Linked DNA regions of Homo sapiens: region 2 is linked to region 1. The links are contacts of gene promoters, found by promoter capture Hi-C in human tissues and cell types (Jung and others, 2019). All regions are on one chromosome and are shown on one strand. The core of a region is centred on a gene start or on the middle of the fragment in contact, and the rest is flanking DNA. Distances in the headings are between cores, read along the strand shown. Region 1 holds the start of RDH16 (retinol dehydrogenase 16). Region 2 has its middle 43 kb from the start of SDR9C7.

Region 1 (6,882 bases), core at 96-2,595:
TCCCAGTTAGTCTACACAGGGTTCAGGGACCCATTTGAGAAGGCAGTCTGTCTGTTCTAAGAGCTCAAACACCATGCTGGGAGAACCACTGCTCTCTTCAGTGCTGTCAGACAGGGATGTTTAAGTCTGCAGAGGTTTCTGCTGCCTTTTGTTCAGTTATGCACTGCTCCCAGAGGTGGAGTCTATAGAGGCAGAAAGCCTTGCCTTGCTGCAGTGGGCTTCGCCCAGTTTGAGCTGCCCAGCTGCTTTGCTTTCCTACTCAAGCCTCAGCAATGGTGAGCAACCCTCCTCCTGCCAGGCTGCTGCCTTGCAGGTTGATCTCAGACTACTGCACTAGCAGTGAGCAAAGCTCTGTGGGAATGGGACCCACCAAACCAGGCACAGGATATAATCTCCTGGTGTGCCATTTGCTAAGACCATTGGAAAAGTGCAGTATTTGAGCAGGAGTGTCTTGTTTTTCCAGGTACAGTCTGTCACGGCTTCCCTTGTCTAGGAAAGGGAAATCCCCTGACCTCTTACACTTCCTGGGTAAGGCAATGCCCTGCCTTGCTTCGGCTCACCCTCTGTGGGCTGCACGCACTGTCCAACCAGTCCCAGTGAGATGAACCAGGTACCTCAGCTGGAAATGCAGAAATCACCCATTTTCTGCATCAGTCACACTGGGAGCTGCAGACCGGAGCTGTTCCTATTTGCCCATCCTCTCCCTGCTTTCTTTACCTCTGAGGTTGGATTCTCCCTGTGGGATCCTGCAATCCTTCTGCCCCAAAAAACTATTATAGCAGGAGGGAACCTGTTCCTGCTCACTCTTTGCCTTCTCCTTCTCATCCTAGACAGCCTGACCGTGCCCTAGTTTTCAGAGGAGTGATTGATTCTGGGGTGCGGAGCAGGATGAGGAAACTCAGGCTCAGAGAGGGATTTCCACCTAATGTGCCTGGAAACCATGGGTAGCTACCCAATAAGGCCTTTCTATGTTCAGAAGGTCATGGACCAGGAGTGTTGGTATCGGAGCTTTGTAGAGACAGTTTTGACCCCTGTACTTAGAGCAGAGGGGTGTGTTTGCCATGGAGAGTGTGTGTGGGCAGCTGTGTGTAAGCCTGTGTGAGTTCTGTGTATGTTCCTGTGTGAATATATGTGTGTGCTCCTTCATGGACACAGCATGCATGTAGTGGGCATAGCAAGGCAGAGAGAAATCAGGAGACTAGGGGCACATTGCCCAGTAGGAAGATAGTATCTTCCTACTGGGCAGGACTTGAGGTGTGCAAAGGTGTGCATGAGTACTGCAAAAGCAGTTCAAAGAGCAGAGAGGTGGGGCCAGAATAAATATGTTGCAGAAAGGCAGTCATCAGGGAGGAAAGTGAGGATTCCCTGCCAAAATGCCTGAGGGCTTCCCTGCCTACCACAGCCCTCTGTGTTCTTAAATCCTCCTGTCTGAACAGAGGCCAGACTCTGGTTTCCCCCACAGCCTGTCTGTGTCTGTCCTCTGCAAAGCCATGTGGCTCTACCTGGCGGTTTTCGTGGGCCTGTACTACCTTCTGCACTGGTACCGGGAGAGGCAGGTGCTGAGCCACCTGAGAGATAAGTATGTGTTCATCACGGGCTGTGACTCTGGCTTCGGGAAACTGCTGGCCAGACAGCTGGATGCACGAGGCTTGCGGGTGCTGGCTGCATGTCTGACGGAGAAAGGAGCCGAGCAGCTGAGGGGCCAGACTTCAGACAGGCTGGAGACGGTGACCCTGGATGTTACCAAGACAGAGAGCGTTGCTGCAGCCGCCCAGTGGGTGAAGGAGTGCGTGAGAGACAAAGGTAACCACCCAGGTTTGTCAAGTCTGTCTGTGTCTTCCCTCTGTGTGAAGGGACCACCTCCTGTCTGCTCCCTGGGAAGATTCCTACAGTGTCTTTCCAGGTTGAAGTAACAGTAGCTTTCTAATATTTCTCACTTAACAGGCTGCCTGAACCCCATCTCTTTTCAATCCTTAACCTCTCCCGACATTGGAGGTGTCTAGTCTTGGGGAGAGTTTGCCCTGATGAGATTTTCTCTCCAGAATTCCTCTCTATCCTCTCCCTCCTGTCTAAGCAGAAGTCATGTGTTGTTTGATGCTAAGAGCCTGGGTTAGAGATCTGGAGACTTGCTGGAGCATCGTTGAGAAGGGAGCACAGGGCTGCAAGTGTGCACGGAGGCTGTGCCTGTGCTGGAGCCAGGCTTATGTTCCCAGCACTTTACCTTGTTTTTGCTAGGGCCCATCAGCGTCCACTGAGAGCTACGATCATCTCCATCTTCAGAGGAGAGTATCAGCTTAAGGACTGCTTAAGGAAGGCAGAACTAGTAAGGGGTTACTTTTTCTTTCTTTCTTCTTTTCACTACACTAATTCATCTGTCTTATTATAGAGGAAGAAAGAAACATGGATTTATTTTATGTAACAATAAATCAGAATATGATCTTTGTGGAAAACACTGAAAAGAATAAAGATGAAAACAAGTTTCCCTGAAATTGTCATCCACACATAAGTCCTTTTTACAATTATACAAAATTAGGATTTTATATTTTGTTCTTAGTTTCAGTCACCTTAAATTCTCTGGAGAAGATGAACACTTTTCCACCATAATGACTGTTTTTATAAAATTATATTTAATTATTTAGAATACTGTATCCTTCCAATAGCCTTACCTATGTAATCCATACTGAGTGGTTGGATATGAAATTCCTTCCTGCTTTTTATTCATCATAAATGTCATCTTGGTGGACTTTTATTTGCCAACGTCTCTGTAAGTGTGAGTATTGATTGGATTCTTAAAAATGAGATGTCTGGGTGGAGGAATCTGCATTTGCATCAGGGCAGGGCCTGTTATTGAGCAGGGGACAGGTTCATATGCCTGGGCCAACCCTTCCAGATCAACAACTGCCACCCCCTGCCTGGACTCAAGGGACCCTGTGCTCCTGCCCCCTAGCTCTGTGGGTTGAAAACTCTATTGACTTGAAGTCCTGGGGATTGTGTATTTGCATCTTCCAGAGAGATTTTCCCAGAGCTGGGTGAACTTGGGACTAAAGGGAAGGATGAAGAGTGGGCTTCTGATGCAGTAGGAGGAGAGGGTGACATTTTCTGGGGCAGAGGGTGGAGTCTGTGTACTGAGTGGGGTGACGCAACCTTGCTTTCTTCCCAAAGCCTGTGCATTGGAATTCCCCTGTGCTTTCTATAAAAATGTTACTGATGCAGGATGTTTCAAGACCAGTGCCCTGAGTTCAAACACTTGGGAAACAGGATGTTTCCCAAGTTCCCCCAAGCCTAGGATTTCAGGTCTGTCTCTTTCTCTCTTTCCTGTCTCCCTCACTCTCCCTCTTTCTTGTCTCTTATTCCATCAACAGATAGTTGCTGGACAATCACTATATAAGGTGTTAGCACACCTGAAAATGCAGCTGTATGTCTGTAATGTCTGCAACATTCATGTTTAACTAACCAAACATTGGTCTTCATGTTTCCAGACTAATGCATGGACAATAGTTCTTTAACATGATTTCATGCAGTCCTTAAATAGGGGTAATAGCTTATTGTCTTTCAGGCAGTAGGCTGGTCCATGAAGAGTAAATGGAGAAAGACCTGGGTTTTGTGGCCCACCAGCTGCTGAATGCTCAGCCCCCACCCCTGTGATACTGTGGTGTTTGTTATACCCTCCTCCCCATCCCACACCTGTCAGTCTGCCCTCACTTTATTGGGATGTGATTTGCACCCTAACTCTGTCCACCTGCACAGGCACAACACAGTGATGCTCTCTCATCTTCCCACTGTCCCAGGACTCTGGGGCCTGGTGAATAATGCTGGCATCTCCTTGCCCACGGCTCCCAATGAGTTGCTCACCAAGCAGGACTTCGTGACCATACTGGACGTGAACTTGTTGGGGGTGATTGATGTGACTCTGAGCCTGCTGCCCTTAGTGAGGAGGGCCAGGGGCCGTGTGGTCAACGTCTCCAGTGTCATGGGCCGGGTGTCACTTTTTGGTGGAGGCTACTGCATCTCCAAGTATGGCGTGGAAGCCTTCTCTGACTCCCTCAGGTATGGGTCTGGGATGGGGCCCACCCTAGTCTTCCTGCTCCTGTCCTTGTGGGGAAGTCTTTTCCAGGGAGTTCCTTGAATCCCAGCCTGTAAGTTCCTTTCATGAGATCACTCTCTGTCTTCATGTGTGACACCCTCATCTTCCTCTTTCTGGATTGGGCTGGCCATTCACTGGGAAGCACCTTCCTGAGTGCTGGGCGACAGGAGGGGCCCCAGGTCAGAGAGTTTCTTGAACGATACCTCTTCCCTGGATGGATCTCTTGGTCAGAAACTGCCAGAGGCAGAATTGGACCTGGATCTTTGGCTTCAGATCCTACCAAGAGGAACACAGTACTGAGGTTACCAAGCCCAGGACAGGGGAACACTGTGTATCAATGACTAATCCCAGGGAAGGACCCTAAACACTTCTTCCCATTGCACCTTGGTATTGGAGCCACAAAGGCAGACCAGGCAGTCAGTGCTGGATGGAAGAATGCTTTGCACCCTAGAGAAGGAGCAGAGAAAGATCAGCTACAGCAGTGTGTGTTGGTCCCCTAGCCAGGGAGGCTCTCCCAGCAGCTGACACTGGGCATGTGGCTTGCTAACACCCCTCTCTTGCTGTAGTAGAAGGACCCCAACCCCTCCTCCCAGGAATCTGAAATACTTGTAAACCTGGGGCATGCCTTAGGGCCGCGGACACACACAAGCTCATGCAGACGCAAGAGCACTCACTGAGTCAGAAACAGGGAAAGATATTTCCACACCAGGAGATGGGTGCCTGGCTCTGGGGCTCTTCCTCTCTAGGGAGAGAAATGCTTCAAGCCCTGAGGCCATTCCTTCATGGCTCTCTGGGGCCCAAAGACAGCATGCAGGAGATGGTCTTTCCCAGCAGAATTCATATCCAGAGCCCCTTTGACGATGGGTAGAGCATCTGAGTCCACACAACAGACACTTTAGGCCCTTGTCCAAGTGGCCAAAAATCCATCCTTAACAACAAGGTTTTGTCTGTGACTTAAAACTTGATACCTGGGAGAGGGACAAGAGATATAGAATCAAGTGCCAATGCTTATAAGGTTGGTGACCAAGTCAACCTTGCTGGCCATGGTACCCACCTGAGTTGAGGAGAGTCCTGGAGATTCCATCTGAGCTGGGGATTGAAAACTCAAGCTGGGGATTGAGAACTCCACCTGGCAGCCTGGTAAGGAAGACTGGGAAAGGCTCCTAGATGAAGGAATGCCATCAGCCCAGGCCCAGAGTGAGCATTAGCCACCTGCATGTACTGCAGAATCCTCTTGTGGTGAAGGTCAAGGCCAAGCCTGGTGGGGGATGCTGGGCAGGTGGTCATAGGTGGGCTCCTTGAGGGCCTGTGGGCCCTGGACAGGAGTTGTGGCTTATGCTGTTGGCAGTGGAACCCCCTCCAGAAAAGGGATTTGCTCAGGGGAGCTCCTTGGTCCAGTCAGCTTCTAGACTCCCACTGACTGCAGGAAGCCCAGTGGTTGTAAGTGTGGGGAGCCAGACTGAAGACAGATGCTTCTTAGAGGACAGCTGCCATCACCCAGCTCAGAGGCCAGGGAGATTCCTGGGGCAGGAAAACGAGGGAGGGGACTGAGGACTGGAGAGGAGGCAAAATGTGGGAATTCTGGTGATCCACTGGATGTGAGGGACATAGGAGGAGACAGCACTAAGGTGCTGCCTTGCTTTGGAATTGGTAGGATTTAGGGCTAGTAAGCTCAGGTGTGTAAAATATGGAAACTCCATACAGAGGGAATGCCACCATGATAATTATGACCCCTTGATTGCTGGAAATTAAATATTCCAAGCTTTCTATTTTACCCATTGTCCTCATATGTTGTGATATCATAGTTTTACTTTTATTGTTTGTGTTTTACCTTCCAAGACCCCCGAAGTTTTTCCCCTCTGCTTCTCTGTCTTGCAGGAGGGAACTCTCCTACTTTGGGGTGAAGGTGGCTATGATTGAACCTGGCTATTTCAAGACTGCTGTGACCAGTAAGGAGAGATTCTTAAAGAGCTTCCTGGAGATTTGGGACCGGTCCAGTCCAGAGGTCAAGGAGGCCTATGGCGAGAAGTTTGTTGCAGACTGTGAGTAAGCTGTGGACAGTGGGGAGAGAAGCAAACCCTCGTGTGGAATCCTTGGTCTACCATTGGTGTCTGAAGGGCATTAGAGTTTGATCCCCAGGCTCTCCCTTCCCCACAGAGTGGAGACCTTTAGCCCCATTTCCATGATGGGTGCTGTGTGGTCAACTGGTCATGAAAAGCAAGTGTCCAGGCTTCTCAGAACTTGGGACCAGTGTCTATCTGAACCCATCGTTACTGAGGAACAAAGGGAAGCCAGAAAGGGAAGACATTGGTGGCTGATCACAAGCTGGCATTAGAGACAGCTTGTTTTTATGTGCTGAGACTTCTACTGTGGGTGGAGACCATCATTTATGCAGTCCAGATATTCCCAAAGAGAGACAGACATGACTTAGTGTGAGACACTTGCTACTTTCACATGGATGGGCTCCAGCTCAGGGAATTTGGATAAAAGAGATTTGAGGCATTGCTTGACTGGGGGTTGTGGGGTGGCATGAGTTCTTAGACCCTTTCCACTCTAAGTTGAATCCAAAGCAGGAGCGGTTAGAGGTGGAAATATACATGGATTGTTTCTGATTCTTAACAGATAAGAAATCAGCTGAACAAATGGAGCAGAAGTGCACACAGGATCTGTCGTTGGTGACCAACTGCATGGAGCATGCGCTGATTGCCTGCCACCCCCGTACTCGCTACTCAGCTGGCTGGGATGCCAAGCTTCTCTACCTCCCCATGAGCTACATGCCCACCTTCCTGGTGGATGCC
Region 2 (6,673 bases), core at 1,437-3,936, 66 kb after region 1:
TTTGTTAAACTTACAACTAAAAACATATTTTTTCATAATTTGTTTAATCTATTTTATTTTATTTATACAATTTAGCAAATATTATCAATTTCTTTTTTTTGATAGTGAACATTTAATTTAAACCTGACAAAAAATACATCAATGCATATGCTACCAAGACTTAGTAATTAAATCATATTAGGATTGAGAAGCTCTTATTCTAGCATGATTTCTATATGAGCTGCCATATTGTTCACTTTGACTCTTTTTTTTTTATTGTACTTTAAGTTCTAGGGTACATGTGCACAATGTGCAGGTTTGTTACATATGTATACATGTGCCATGTTGGTGTGCTGCACCCATTAACTCGTCATTTACATTAGGTATCTCCCCTAATGGTATCCCTCCCCCTCCCCCTACCCCACGATAGACCCCAGTGTGTGATGTTCCCCATCCTGTGTCCAAGTGTTCTCATTGTTCAATTCCCACTTATGAATGAGAACATGCGGTGTTTGGTTTTCTATCCTTGCGATAGTTTGCTGAGAATGATGGTTTCCAGCTTCATCCATGTCCCTACAAAGGACATGAACTCATCCTTTTTTATGGCTGTATAGTATTCCATGGTCTATATGTGCCACATTTTCTTAATGCAGTCAATCACTGATGGACATTTGGGTTGGTTCCAAGTCTTTGCTGTTGTGAATAGTGCCGCAATAAACATACATGTGCATGTGTCTTTATAGTAGCATGATTTATAGTCCTTTGGGTATATACCCAGTAATGGGATGGCTGGGTCAAACGGTATTTCTAGTTCTAGATCCTTGAGGAATTGCCACTGTCTTCCACAACAGTCGAACTAGTTTACAGTCCCACCAACAGTGTAAAAGTGTTCCTATTTCTCCACATCCTCTCCAGCACCTGTTGTTTCCTGACTTTTTAATGATCGCCATTCTAACTGGTGTGAGATGGTATCTCATTGTGGTTTTGATTTGCATTTCTCTGATGGCCAGTGAAGATAAGCATTTTTTCATGTGTCTCTTCACTGCATAAATGTCTTCTTTTGAGAAGTGTCTGTTCATATCCTTTGCCCACTTTTTGATGGGGTTGTTTGATTTTTTCTTGTAAATTTGTTTAAGTTCTTTGTAGATTCTGGATATTAGCCCTTTGTCTAATGGATAGATTGCAAAAATTTTCTCCCATTCTGTAGGTTGCCTGTTCACACTGATGATAGTTTATTTTGCTGTGCAGAAGCTCTTTAGTTTAATTAGATACCATTGGTCAATTTTGGCTTTTGTTGCCATTGCTTTTGGTGTTTTAGTCATGGAGTCCTTGCCCATGCCTATGTACTGAATAGTATAGCCTAGGTTTTCTTCTAGGGTTTTTATGGTTTTAGGTCTAACGTTGAAGTCTTTAATCCATCTTGAATTAATTTTTGTATAAGGTGTAAGGAAGGGATCCAGTTTCAGCTTTCTACATATGGCTAGCCAGTTTTCCCAGCACCATTTATTAAATAGGGAATCCTTTCCCCATTTCTTGTTTTTGTCAGGTTTGTCAAAGATCAGATGGTTTTAGATGTGTGGTGTTATTTCTAAGGGCTCTGTTCTGCTCCATTGGTCTATATGTCTGTTTTGGTACCAGTACCATGCTGTTTTGGTTACTGTAGCCTTGTAGTATAGTTTGAAGTCAGGTAGCATGATGCCTCCAGCTTTGTTCTTTTGGCTTAGGATTGTCTTGGCAATGTGGGCTCTTTTTTGGTTCCATATGAACTTTAAAGTAGTTTTTTCCAATTCTGTGAAGAAAGTCATTGGTAGCTTGATGGGGATGGCATTGAATCTATAAATTACCCTAGGCAGTATGGCCATTGTCATGATATTGACTTTTCCTATTCATGACCATGGAATGTTCTTCCATTTGTTTGTATCCTCTTTTATTTCATTGAGCCGTGGTTTGTAGTTCTCCTTGAAGAGGTCCTTCACATCCCTTGTAAGTTGGATTCCTAGGTATTTTAATCCTTTGTAGCAATTGTGAATGGGAGTTCACTTATGATTTGGCTCTCAGTTTGTCTGTTATTGGTATATAGGAATGCTTGTTATTTTTGCACATTGATTTTGTATCCTGAGACTTTGCTGAATTTGCTTATCAGCTTGAGGAGATTTTGGGCTGAGACGATGGGTTTTTCTAAATATACAATCATGTCGTCTGCAAACAGGGACAATTTGACTTCCTCTTTTCCTAGGTGAATGCCCTTTATTTCTTTCTGTTGCCTGATTGCCCTGGCCAGAACTTCCAACACTGTGTTGAAAAGGAATGGTGAGAGAGGGCGTCCCTGCCTTGTGCCAGTTTTCAGAGGGAATGCTTCCAGTTTTTGCCCATTCAGTATGATATTGGCTGTGGGTTTGTCATAAATAGTTCTTATTATTTTGAAATACATCCCATCAATACCTTGTTTATTGAGTTTTTAGCATGAAGGGCTGTTGAATTTTGTCAAAGGCCTTTTCTGCATCTATTGAGATAATCATGTGGTTTTGTGTTTGGTTCTGTTTGTGTGATGGATTATGTTTGTTGATTTGCATATGTTGAACCAGACTTGCATCTCAGGGATAAAGCCAAATTGGTCTTGTTGGATAAGCTTTTTGATGTGCTGCTAGATTTGGTTTGCCAGTATTTTATTGAGGATTTTCACATCAATGTTCATCAGGGATATTGGTCTAAAATTCTCTTTTTTTGTTGTGTCTCTGCCAGGCTTTGGTATCAGGATGATGCTGGCCTCATAAAATGAGTTAGGGAGAATTACCTCTTTTTCTATTGATTGGAATAGGTTTATAAGGAATGGTACCAGTTCCTCTTTCTTCCTCTGGTAGAATTCGGCTGTGAATCCATCTGGTCCTGGACTTTTTTTTGGTTGATAGGCTGTTAATTATTGCCTCAATTTCAGAGTCTGTTATTGGTCTATTCAGGGATTCAAGTTCTTCCTGGTTTAGTCTGGGAGGGTATGTGTGTCCTGGAATGTATCCGTTTCTTCTAGATTTTGTAGTTTATTTGTGTAGAGGTGTTTATAGTATTCTCTGATGGTAGTTTGTGTTTCTGTGGGATCAGTGCTGATATCCCCTTTCTCATTTTTATTGTGTCTATTTGATTCTTCTCTCTTTTCTTCTTTATTAGTCTTGCTAGCGGTCTATCAATTTTGTTGATCTTTTCAAAAAACCAGCTCCTAGATTCATTGATTTTTTGAAGGGTTTTTGTGTCTCTATCTCCTTCAGTTCTGCTCTGCTCTTAGTTATTTCCTGCCTTCTGCAAGCTTTTCCATTTGTTTGCTCTTGCTTGTCTAGTTCTTTTGATTGTGATGTTAGGATGTTGATTTTAGATCTTTCCTGCTTTCTCTTGTGGGCATTTTGTGCTATAAATTTCCCTCTACATACTGCTTTAAATGTGTCCCAAAGATTCTGGTACATTGTGTTTTTGTTCTCATCAGTTTCAAAGACCATCTTTATTTCTGCCTTCATTTCGTTTTTTAGCCAGTAGTCATTCAGGAGCAGGTTGTTCAGTTTCCATGTAGTTGAGTGGTTTTGAGTAAGTTTCTTAATCCTGAGTTCTAATTTGATTGCACTGTGGTCTGAGGGACAGTTTGTTGTGATTTCTGTTCTTTTACATTTGCCGAGGAGTGCTTTGCTTCCGACTATGTTGTCAATTTTGGAATACGTGTGATGTGGTGCTGAGAGGAATGTATATTCTGTTGATTTGGGGTGGAGAGTTCTGTAGACGTCTATTAGGTCAGCTTGGTGCAGAGCTGAGTTCAAGTCATGGATATCCTTGTTAACCTTCTGTCTCGTTGATCTGTCTAATCTTGACAGTGGGGTGTTAAAGTCTCCCGTTATTATTGTGTTGGAGTCTAAGTCTCTTTTTAGGTCTCTAAGGACTTGCTTTATGAATCTGGGTGCTCCTGTATTGGGTGCATATATATTTAGGATAGTTAGCTCTTCTTGTTGAATTGATCCCTTTACCATTATGTAAGGGCCTTCTTTGTCTCTTTTGATCTTTGTTGGTTTAAAGTCTGTTTTATCAGAGACTAGGATTGCAACCCCTGTTTTTTTTTTGGTTTTTTTTTTTTTTTTTTTGCTTTTCGTTTGCTTGGTAGATCTTCCTCCATCCCTCTATTTTGAGCCCATGTGTGTCTCTGCACATGAGATGGATCTCCTGAATACAGCAAACTGATGAGTCTTGATTTTTTAATCCAATCTCCTGTCTGTGTCTTTTAATTGGGGCTTTTAGCCCATTTACATTTAAGGTTAATATTGTTATGTGTGAATTTGATCATGTCATTATGATGTTAGCTGGTTATTATGCCCATTAGTTGATGCAGTTTCTTCCTAGCATTGATGGCCTTTACAATTTGGCATGTTTTTGCAGTGGCTGGTACCAGTTGTTCCTTTCCATGTTTAGTGCTTCCTTCAGGAGCTCTTGTAAGGCAGGCCTGGTGGTGACAAAATCTCTCAGCATTTGCTTGTCTGTAAAGGATTTTATTTCTCCTTCACTTATGAAGCTTAGTTTGGCTGGATATGAAATTCTGGGTTGAAAATTCTTTTCTTTAAGAATGTTGAATATTGGTCCCCGCTCTCTTCTGGCTTGTAGAGTTTCTGTGGAGAGATCTGCTGTTAGTCTGATGGGCTTCCCTTTGTGGGTAACCCAACCTTTCTCTCTGGCTGCCCTTAACGTTTTTTCCTTCATTTCAACCTTGGTGAATCTTACAATTATGTGTCTTGGGGTTGCTCTTCTCAAGGAGTATCTTTGTGGTGTTCTCTGTATTTCCTGAATTTGAATGTTGGCCTGCCTTGCTAGGTTGGGGAAGTTCTCCTGGATAATATCCTGAAGAGTGTTTTCCAGCTTGGTTCCCTTCTTCCTGTCACTTTCAGGTACACCAATCAAATGTAGATTTGGTCCTTTCACATAGTCCCATATTTCTTGGAGGCTTTGTTCATTTCTTCTTATTCTTTTTTCTCTAAGCTTCTCTTCTCGCTTCATTTCATTCATTTGATCTTCAATCACTGATACGCTTTCTTCCACTTGATTGAATCGGCTACTAAAGCTTGTGCATGCATCACATAGTTCTTGTGCCATGGTTTTCAGCTTCATCAGGTCATTTAAGGTCTTCTCTACACTGTTTATTCTAGTTAGTCATTTGTCTAATCTTTTTTCAGTTTTTAGCTTCCTTGTGATGGATTTGAACATCCTCCTTTAGCTCGGAGAAGTTTGTTATTACCGACCTTCAGAAGCCTACTTCTGTCAACTCATCAAAGTCATTCTCCATCCAGCCTTGTTCCATTGCTGGCGAGGAGCTGTGGTACTTTGAAGGAGAAGAGTCCCTCTGGCTTTTAGAATTTTCAGCTTTTCTGCTCTGGTTTCTCCCCATCTTCATGGTTTTATCTACCTTTGGTCTTTGATGTTGGTGACCTACAGATGGGTTTTTGGTGCGGATGTCCTTTTTGTTGATGTTGGTACTATTCCTTTCTGTTTGTTAGTTTCCCTTCTAAAAGGTCCGTCAGCTGCAGGTCTTTTGGAGTTTTTCGGAGGTCCACTCCGGACCCTGTTTGCCTGTGTATCACCAGCAGAGGCTGAAGAATGGCAAATATTGCAGAACAGCAAATATTGCTGTCTAATCCTTCCTCTGGAAGCTTTGTCTCAGAGAGGCACCTGCTTGTATGAGGTGTCAGTCGGCCCCTACTGGGAGGTGTCTCCCAGTTAGGCTACACGGGGGTCAGGGACCCACTTGAGGAGGCAGTCTGTCTGTTCTCAGAGCTCAAACACTGTGCTGGGTGAACCACTGCTCTCTCTTCAGTGCTGTCAGACAGGGAAGTTTAAGTCTGCAGAAGTTTCTGCTGCCTTTTGTTCAGCTATGCCCTACCCCCAGAGGTGGAGTCTACAGAGGCAGGGAGGTCTCGTTGAGCTGTGGTGGGCTCCACCCCAATGTTATCAATTTCTTAAGGGGAACTTAAATTAATATTTCATTGTGTTAATTAAACTCACTTTAAAAACATAAACTGTGTTCATAAATTTAACATATTTAATTTTCTTTTAAAGTATGTCTTTAATAGAATTGTAAACAAAAGAAAATAAATAAATACAATTATCAATTGTATGACTGATAAACCCTAAATAAGCCTTATAAATCAAGTAATACAACATATAAATATGGCAAAGCCATGTTATCTTAAACTTTCTAATATGATTTATAATATAGCACAATTTTCTTTTATCTTAAAATCACAAATCTAATTGAATACTCATTATACATTTAAAAATTGGAATTAGAAAGCAAATGTGTTTGATAATCTATTATGTGAAATTGTTCATAATATGCCACATTCTCTTTTATTTTTAAATACTTAAAATACTGTATAAATCATTTCCAAATTTAATTCAAAATAATAATTCAGGGTTTGGTTTACTTGACTGTCTCTATACATTACCATTTCTATACTCTATTATAAATCTCCTCAGACATTTACCCAATAAAGAGAAAATTATTTCATTCCAAATAATTTGACATTGCCTTTTAAAGTGGCTGAACTTGGATATAAACCTGAGATTTTGATTGGGATAAGAATATTTATAGCTGTAGACATATAGCAAGAATTTTCTCACAATGATGGGGAACATTTATTAGAAGCCCTTTTAAATGCCCCTATGCTGCATGGGG

What was found. Contacts are between HindIII fragments. The study calls those that stand out against the background at their distance.
Region 2: a contact is called between a fragment that was not itself captured here and the fragment with the promoter of RDH16 in region 1, in 4 of the 25 tissues and cell types used here (H1 embryonic stem cells, adrenal gland, mesenchymal stem cells and 1 more).

Annotation. Positions count from the first base shown.
Region 1 is chr12:56,952,071-56,958,952 of GRCh38, reverse strand. RDH16 (retinol dehydrogenase 16) reads left to right here and starts at 1,345. Exons shown (of 4, transcript NM_003708.5): 1 at 1,345-1,803; 2 at 3,789-4,047; 3 at 5,963-6,126; 4 at 6,707-6,882. The coding sequence starts at 1,491. The HindIII fragment of the contact is 7,259 bases long and covers 1-6,340 here.
Region 2 is chr12:56,887,627-56,894,299 of GRCh38, reverse strand. No RefSeq gene overlaps it. Among named protein-coding and RNA genes, the nearest start is that of SDR9C7, 43 kb to the left of the region's middle. The HindIII fragment of the contact is 5,339 bases long and covers 17-5,355 here.